Linked DNA regions of Homo sapiens: region 2 is linked to region 1. The links are contacts of gene promoters, found by promoter capture Hi-C in human tissues and cell types (Jung and others, 2019). All regions are on one chromosome and are shown on one strand. The core of a region is centred on a gene start or on the middle of the fragment in contact, and the rest is flanking DNA. Distances in the headings are between cores, read along the strand shown. Region 1 holds the start of ARSF (arylsulfatase F). Region 2 has its middle 40 kb from the start of SNORA48B.

What was found. The method cuts DNA at HindIII sites, captures the fragments that hold promoters and counts their contacts. A contact is called where the count stands out against the background at its distance.
Region 2: a fragment that was not itself captured here is called in contact with the fragment with the promoter of ARSF in region 1 in 2 of the 25 tissues and cell types used here (mesendoderm cells and thymus).

What each region holds. Positions count from the first base shown.
Region 1 is chrX:3,039,883-3,043,835 of GRCh38, reverse strand. ARSF (arylsulfatase F) reads right to left here and starts at 2,365. Exons shown (of 11, transcript NM_001201539.2): 1 at 2,173-2,365. The HindIII fragment of the contact is 6,572 bases long and covers 1-3,885 here.
Region 2 is chrX:3,489,846-3,493,694 of GRCh38, reverse strand. No RefSeq gene overlaps it. Among named protein-coding and RNA genes, the nearest start is that of SNORA48B, 40 kb to the left of the region's middle. The HindIII fragment of the contact is 6,620 bases long and covers 1-3,849 here.

The DNA of each region.
Region 1 (3,953 bases), core at 1,116-3,615:
CGCTCCAGCCTGGGTGACAGAGTGAGACCCTGTCTCCAAAATAAACAAATCAATCAAACAAACAGACAATAAATAAACTTATAGACAGACACACAGATAGAGGCACATCCTATAACATTTTTCACTTGCCTGTTTTCAAAAATTCTCTCTCTTCCTTTAGACTATTAATTTTTAAAAAATTACGGGAGCCAGCAAAAGTTGAAGGAGAGAGTTACCATCCCAGGCCTTTTCAAAAGAGGGAAAGCTCTGAGGCAAGCAGGATGCAGCAGAAGTGGAACCCCTAGGATGTCCATCTGAAGAATTTCAAGAAGAGATTATGGAATTCAAAAATAAAAAACTTCTTGCAATTTCACTGAGTACATCAGTATTTTAAGAAAATCTTGTTCTAACCAATGATCTCCTTTTGCATTACTGTATTTTTATTATTGAAGTCCAATACCTAGAATGATTATAATTTCCTTTTAGTTATAGCAAACTTAATTACATAAAAATTTTTTTGAATTCCTTTTTTACAGACTGTATTATGACTTGCACAGACCATATACAACCTGCTTGGATTTTCTGTTCTGTCCTAAACATCTCTCTTAAACAACAAGATTCTTTCTCATACAAAATTATTTTTCTTTTAACATTTCTTACCAAAAATACCTCCTTGTAACTTTCTTCTTCTTTTTTTTTGAGATGGAGTAGTCTCGCTCTGTCACCCAGCCTGGAGTGCAGTGGCACGATCTTGGCTCACTGCAACCTCTGCCTCCCGGGTGCAAGCAATTCTCCTACCTCAGCCTCCTGAGTAGCTGGGATTACAGGCACATGCCACCATGCCTGACTAATTTTTATATTTTTAGTAGAGGTGGGGTTTCACTGTGTTGGTCAGGCTGGTCTCAAACTCCTGACCTCATGATCCGCCTGCCTCAGCCTCCCAAAGTGCTGGGATTACAGGTGTGACCCAATGCACGCAGCCTAACTTTCTTTACATCTCTTGTTTCTTGGTTCCTTTTACCATATTTCATAAATAACCCTTAAATAAACCTAGAATCTGGCCGGGTGCGGTGGCTTGCACCTGTTATCCCAGCACTTTGGGAGGCTTAGGTGGGTGGATCACCTGAGGTTAGGAGTTCGAGACCAGCCTGGCCAACATGGCAAGACCCCTATCTCTACTAAAATTACAAAAATTAGCCAGGCATGGTGGTGGGCACCTGTAATCCCAGCTACAAGGGAGGCTGAGGCAGGAGAATCGCTTGAACCTGGGAGGCAGAGGTTGCAGTGAGCTGAGACTGCACCATTGCACTCCAGCCTGGGAGACAGAGCGAGGCTCCATCTCAAAAAATATAAATAAATAAACATGGAATTAGATGAAAATAACTTAGCTTTGAATAAGAACATATTTTTTAGAAAAGTTTTTCTATAATACAATTTATTTAAATTGAAAATGGCCCAGACATTTAGTGAATATCTATTATTTAACTTTAGATTCTAAATTATATTTATTTACAGGCATTTGTTTCATTACATTTACCTAATTAATTTTATAAAATCTTTTACCTAGATTATCTGTGAAAACTCTGATAGTCATCATTTAAAGTTATTTCCCTGTTAACCATTTTTATAGTCTATGAATTTTCTGTGTTTGCCTAAGCAAAAATTTTAAATATATATATATTTTACTGATAACTTGGGATTTAGCTCTTTTTACTACACTAATAACATTAAACGTCTTATTTCTCAAAAAGTACAGAAACAAAGATTATTGTGTTTCATGCTGGGTTGCTGGGTTTATAGTTTTGTAAGCCTTATGCCAAATTTTGACACCTTATAATATCTGTCAGAGGTAAATATGAAACTGCTTGATCAGTAAATGCAAACAAACATGTATGCTGACAATTTTTAAGATATTTCTAATACTATCGTACCAATAATTTTAAAGCCAGCTTATTTATTAAAGATTTATGTAAGTCACGTGAACTTGAAAAGCGTTTTGGCTTATTATTTAATTTATGAGTACTCTTTGACTTGAAGCCAATTTGACACTTCAGGGCTAAAGCACGTAAAAAATGTATATGTGCACACATATGTGCATGTACATAAACACATCTAAATACGCATGCACACTCACACAAAGATCCTATAGCTTTTACTTCAGAACTCTAGCAAGAGATATCAACACAAACTCACCAGTTTATACAAACAAAAAGGTTGGATCCCAACAGTGACTTCTATCTCAACAGCAGTGGAAAAGTAACAGAAGGGCCAGGAGTGGTGGTTCACGCCTGTAATCCCAGCACTTTGGGAGGCCGAGGCCGGCGGATCACTTGAGGTCGGGAGTTCGAGACCAGCCTGGTCAACATGGTGAGAGCCTGTCTCCACTAAAAATACAAAAATTACGTAGACGTGGTGGCGCACGTCTGTAATCCCAGCTACTGGGGAGGCTGAGGCAGGAGAATCGCTTGAACCTGGAAGGCAGAGGCTGCAGTAGATAGCGCCATTGCACTCCAGCCTGGGTGACAGAGCAAGACTCTGTCTCAAAAAAAAAAAAAAAGAAAAAGAAAAGAAAAGAAAAGAACAAAAAGTAAACAGAAGATTTAAAGTAGGCAGAAAAGAAAATAGCAAAATAGAGGACTTAGGAACTGATTGGTTGCAGGTTGACCTTTGGGCTGGAATTTTCTCTGGTGTAATGTGTGCAGCAGTTTAAAGTGTGAACAAGCACAGACATAATATGTAACAGGAAGCTTCTTGTTTGACCTGGCATGCCCTCAAGCTTTTCCCGCTTACACAAATACTTGCAAGTAGAGGAACCAGAGAACCAAAAGGGGTGCCCAAATGGGGGTCGCTCTCTCCGCCTTTCCTCATCCTTACATGCTATGTCTCCCACTTTTATTTTAAAATGAGGAACTAAACTGTGGCCTGGGTTTTAGTAGGGTGGATTGAAGTGTGCTGGCTGTGAGAGGGACTACACTGTGTGTCACCACTGAGTCTTTCTACCCTTTCACGTGTCTGAGTTTCTCTCTCCAGAGGTCTAGACCTCTGACAGGGCTCAACATAGCAAGTGATCAGCTCTTACACCTGTCTCCTGGATGAGCCTCTTAAAATTAATTTTGTTGTGTGGTTCCCTGTAGGGTCACTGCACATCATGGCAGGAGTCAATCCCCCAGAGACTCCCACTCAACCCCTACCACCCAGGGGTGGTTTTTGGCTAGGAGGAGCAAAACTCCCTTTCTTTTCCAAGCTGAGGAGGTCAGCCTCTCGTTTGGCAATTCAAAATTATGCCACAAAAGTGGCAGTTCAGTCTCTCACGCAAATGTACTCACAGGCCAATCGACATTAATTTGGGGGGAAAAGGGCAGTGGAGAAGACCATTTAGAATGCACCACCAAACCTAAAGTAGGATCCTATACAACAACTTCCTAGGAGAAAAATAAAAAGGAGGTAGAAAAACAGCTCAGAATGAACCAAGGACCATCAACCAAATGGAAGGTCCAGAGCTGCAGAGGACTCACCGGTTCCACTGGAGGAGAAACCTAAAGCCAGGGAGGGCTTCCAATGGCCCTGCGGGTAACTTAGCTCCGGGTTCGGGCAACTGCGTCAAGGATTCTGAGTCTTTTCTGAGGCCCCACGTGTAGGGCACCAATTAATGTCCATGAAAAGAGTCAAACTCTGTAAAATATTTGAAAAGAGTTATTCATTTAACCAATGGCTCACGACACAGCCCCAAGGAGGTCCTGAGAACAAGTGCCCAAGGTGGTTGGGTGACAGCTTGGCTTTATACAATTTACGGGGACAGGAGACATCAATCGACACATGTGAGATGTACATTGGCTTAGTCCAGAAAGGTGGGATTCCATTCAAAGTGAGGAACTTCCAGGTCGTAGGTGGATTCCAGGATTTTCTGATTAAAGACCTGTAATTAGTAGAAAGGAAATGTCTGGGTGAGGATAAGGCGTTGAGGAGACCAAAGT
Region 2 (3,849 bases), core at 106-2,605, 450 kb before region 1:
CCAGGAGAGCTGAGGGTGTGAGTTCCAGTCTGAGTCTGAAGGCCCAAGACCCAGAAGAGCTGATGGTGAGAGCTCCAGTCTGACTCTGAAGGTCTGAGACCCAGGAGAGCCAATGGTAAGAGTTGCAGCCTGAGTCTAATGTGGAGTCAGGAGTAAAACTATTGTCCCAGCTTGAAGACAGGCAGAGAGAGCAAATTCTTTGTTACTCCATTTTTTTCTTTGTTCTATGTCCACCCTCATAACAGAGGACAATCCTTTTTCATATAATGACTTCTTTTCTTCTGGATAGATACCCAGGAGTGGGGTTGCTGGATCGAATGGTAGTTCTACTTTTAGTTATTTAAGGAATCTCCACACTGTTTTCCACAGTGGCCAACAACTTTTCTGTTTTCTTGTCTTTCCTCCCTGTTCCCTAATGACACCACCGTTGAACCAATTGCTCTGTTACCCACATAACAGAAGACAATCCACTCTACTAAGTCTACTGATTGATTCATTAATCTCAACCAGAATAATATTCATAAACACATCTAGAGTAACATTTGACCAAATATGTGGGAACCCCATGGCGCAGCCAGGTTGACACATATAATTAGCCATGACAATGCCTATGTATGTACTTGTTTGTGTGTGTATGTATGTATGTATGCATGACTCTTACTATGCATTAAGCACTGAACTAGCACAGAATAAAAAATATTATACCTTTTGCTGGAAAACATTCACTGTAGTAATATTCTGTGGTCATCTGAAAACAGTGTTTGCTGTTTCCAAATACAAATGAAAGAATGAAGGATCAGAAAAAAATAAATAATGTAGCCATTTAGTCAGCAATATGGAATGGATAACTGTGATTCCATGTAAAAAATCCATGCTTAAACATTGATAAAAGACTAATGCAGCCACTCTCTAAGGTGTTTCTGTGTTTTCTGGGCCCCTCATTGCTCAGAACAGGATGCCCCTCTGGTCATCCTGCTCTGCCCATGGCATTTGGAGCACCTTCCTCCTGGTAGCCTTGCTGCTAGAAGGGGTAACTGAGACTGCTTCCTCCGTCACGTCCCTCTCTTGAAAACTTGTGTTCCCTGTTTATTTATTTGTCACAATATTTGGTCATGTTTACATATTGCTTAAAGATTCTTTGCACCTTCTGCAGGGTGGATTCAAACTCAGCTTCCTTGGCAAAGGTGACAGCCCTTGGCAAAATGCATTTATTTGTTTTAAATAAGTTTTTCCTCTCCACCACCAATGAAACTGTCAGCCTCACCAATCAGGTCCCATTCACCCAACGTGGGAGACGATGCATTCTCGCTCCGTTTCATGAAGATGCAATTGCTACTGTCACTTCACCCAGGCATTCTTTTCACACTGGAAAGGCGATGGTTTGTAAAATTGTCTCTGAATTCATAGAAACTACCAAATAACCTTTAACTTGGCAGAAGATCAAAGACATAACAATCTATTAACCCAAAAGGCACAAGTGGCAAAGAATCTTTATGCTGTATATCAACATGCCCAAATATTGCAATAAATATTATGCAAAACATATGCCTTTGGGCTGGTATGTTTTTGAGAAGCAAGCTTTGCTATGGCTCTAATATTTCAAACCACAGTAGAATTTCCCTTTGACGGGGTCACCCAGGCATCTTATCTGTCAAAATTCGATGAGGCAAACAAACAGGGCATGTCTCATCATCTGCGAAATCCAAATACGCGTATTTCCCACTAATGAATCCCTAATTAGGTCTAATAAAATGTTATCCTGGTCAACAATCCCATGGTAAGACATACCATGAAGTGACTCAACACAGCTTGCTCCTGTTTTCTGTCGAGAAACCAACAATTAATTTCAGCTATGGAACTTTGCATTTAAAGCTGGGCAGAGAAAATTTATAATAGGAGTAGGCTTTTTTTTTTTTTTCTTGAGATGGAGTCTCGTTCTATCACCCAGGCTGGAGTGCAGTGGTGCAATCTCGGCTCCCTGCAAGCTCTGCCTCCCGGGTTCACACCATTCTCCTGCCTCAGCCTCCTGAGTAGCTGGGACTATAGGTGCCCGCCATCTCGCCCGGCTAATTTTTTTGTATTTTTAGTAGAGACGGGGTTTCACTGTGTTAGCCAGCATGGTCTCGATCTCCTGACCTTGTGATCTGCCAGCCTCGGCCTTCCAAAGTGCTGGGATTACAGGCGTAAGCCACCCGCGTCCAGCCAGGAGTAGACTTTTAAACTCAATTTGACAAGCACCATTTGGTCTTTTTCTTGAATACTAGATTGATAGTTAATGAGCTGGAGTCTTCCCTCATCCTGACTTTTGGGTAGGTCATTCAGTTGTAAAGAACTTGCCTCCATGTTTACAATAGTCATAGCTCATGAATGCATGAATAATAATAAGTATTGAGACATTAGTATTAGTAGGTAGTGTCTGTCGTAATAGACGAATCACTTGTTTAGGTTGATTATGGTATGCCCATTCTAAACTCATATTTGCCATATGAAATATTGATGAGTATTGGTGCTGACAAGATAGAGACGGTAAAGAGTAGAGAGTGGTCCAAGAAGGCTACATGCACCAGCTAACAACCAGCTCCTTCCTGTTGGATTATTTCTGTACACTCTACTTCACCTTCCACTCTGTATTGCAGTGGTCCCCAACCTTTTTGGCACCAAGGACAGGTTTCATGTCAGACAATTTTTACAGGGATCTGGGGCAGGACAATGGCATCGGGATGATTCAAGCACATTACATTGATTGTGCACTTTATTTCTATTACTGTTACATTGGAATACATAATGAAATAATTCTACAACTTACCATAATGTAGAATCAGTGGGAGCCCTGAGCTTGTTTTCCTGCAACTGGAAGGTCCCATCTGGGGGTGATGGGAGACAATGACAGATCATCAGGCATTAGATTATCTTAAGGAGCATCAACCTAGATCCCTTGCATGGGTAGTTCACAGTAGGGTTCATGCTCCTATGAGAATCTAATGCCACTACTGATCTGACAGGAGGCGGAACTCATGTGGTTATGTGAGCGATGGGGAATGGCTGTCAGTACAGATGAAGCTTTGCTTGCTCGCCCACCTGCTGATCACTTCCTGTCGTGTGGCTCGCTTTGTAACAGGCGGTGGACTGGTACTGGTCCATGGCCTGGGGGTTGGGGACCCCTGTTTTATTGGATGGGAATAAATATTACCAAAGTGACCATAGAGAGAGAGATTGGATGCCAGGTCTACAAGCAAAGAACACCAAGGGATTAATGAAATTCACCAAAAGCGAACACAGCGGCAGATTTTTTCAGAGCCTCCAGAAAGAACCAACTGTGCCGACACCTTGATTTCAGACTTCTGCTCTTCAGAGCCGTAAGGCAATAAATTTATGTTGTTTTAAACCACTCGTCATACAGAATTTGGTGATAGCAGCCCTAGCAAAAGAAAAAATGCACCCAACTTTTTTGGTAAATTGTGTCGTGGAGAGAGTGGAAGTTTTGGGAATTTTACAACCCATCAGACACAGGGGGAGATTGTCCTAAACATTATGAAATGCATCCCAACATTGCAGTTGCCCGGAAATACTTACCAGCAGTACCAAGGATTGCTTGCTCTTACTGACTCCTTAACATTCTGTCCAGCCTTATAATTCAGTTATGATGATGTTTTATGATTTATTATTATTATAAGTCTTGTTATAATAAGCAAAAGGGCCAATCAAAATATCTGCATCCAAAGCCTTGCAAAATTACAGTATCACACAAGCTCAAAAACATGTAAACATTAGCTCTGCGCTCCGAAAATTTGCTGCCAAACACGAAAGATAAATTATTCCTGAGTGTGGGCCCATACGCAGTCATCAGCC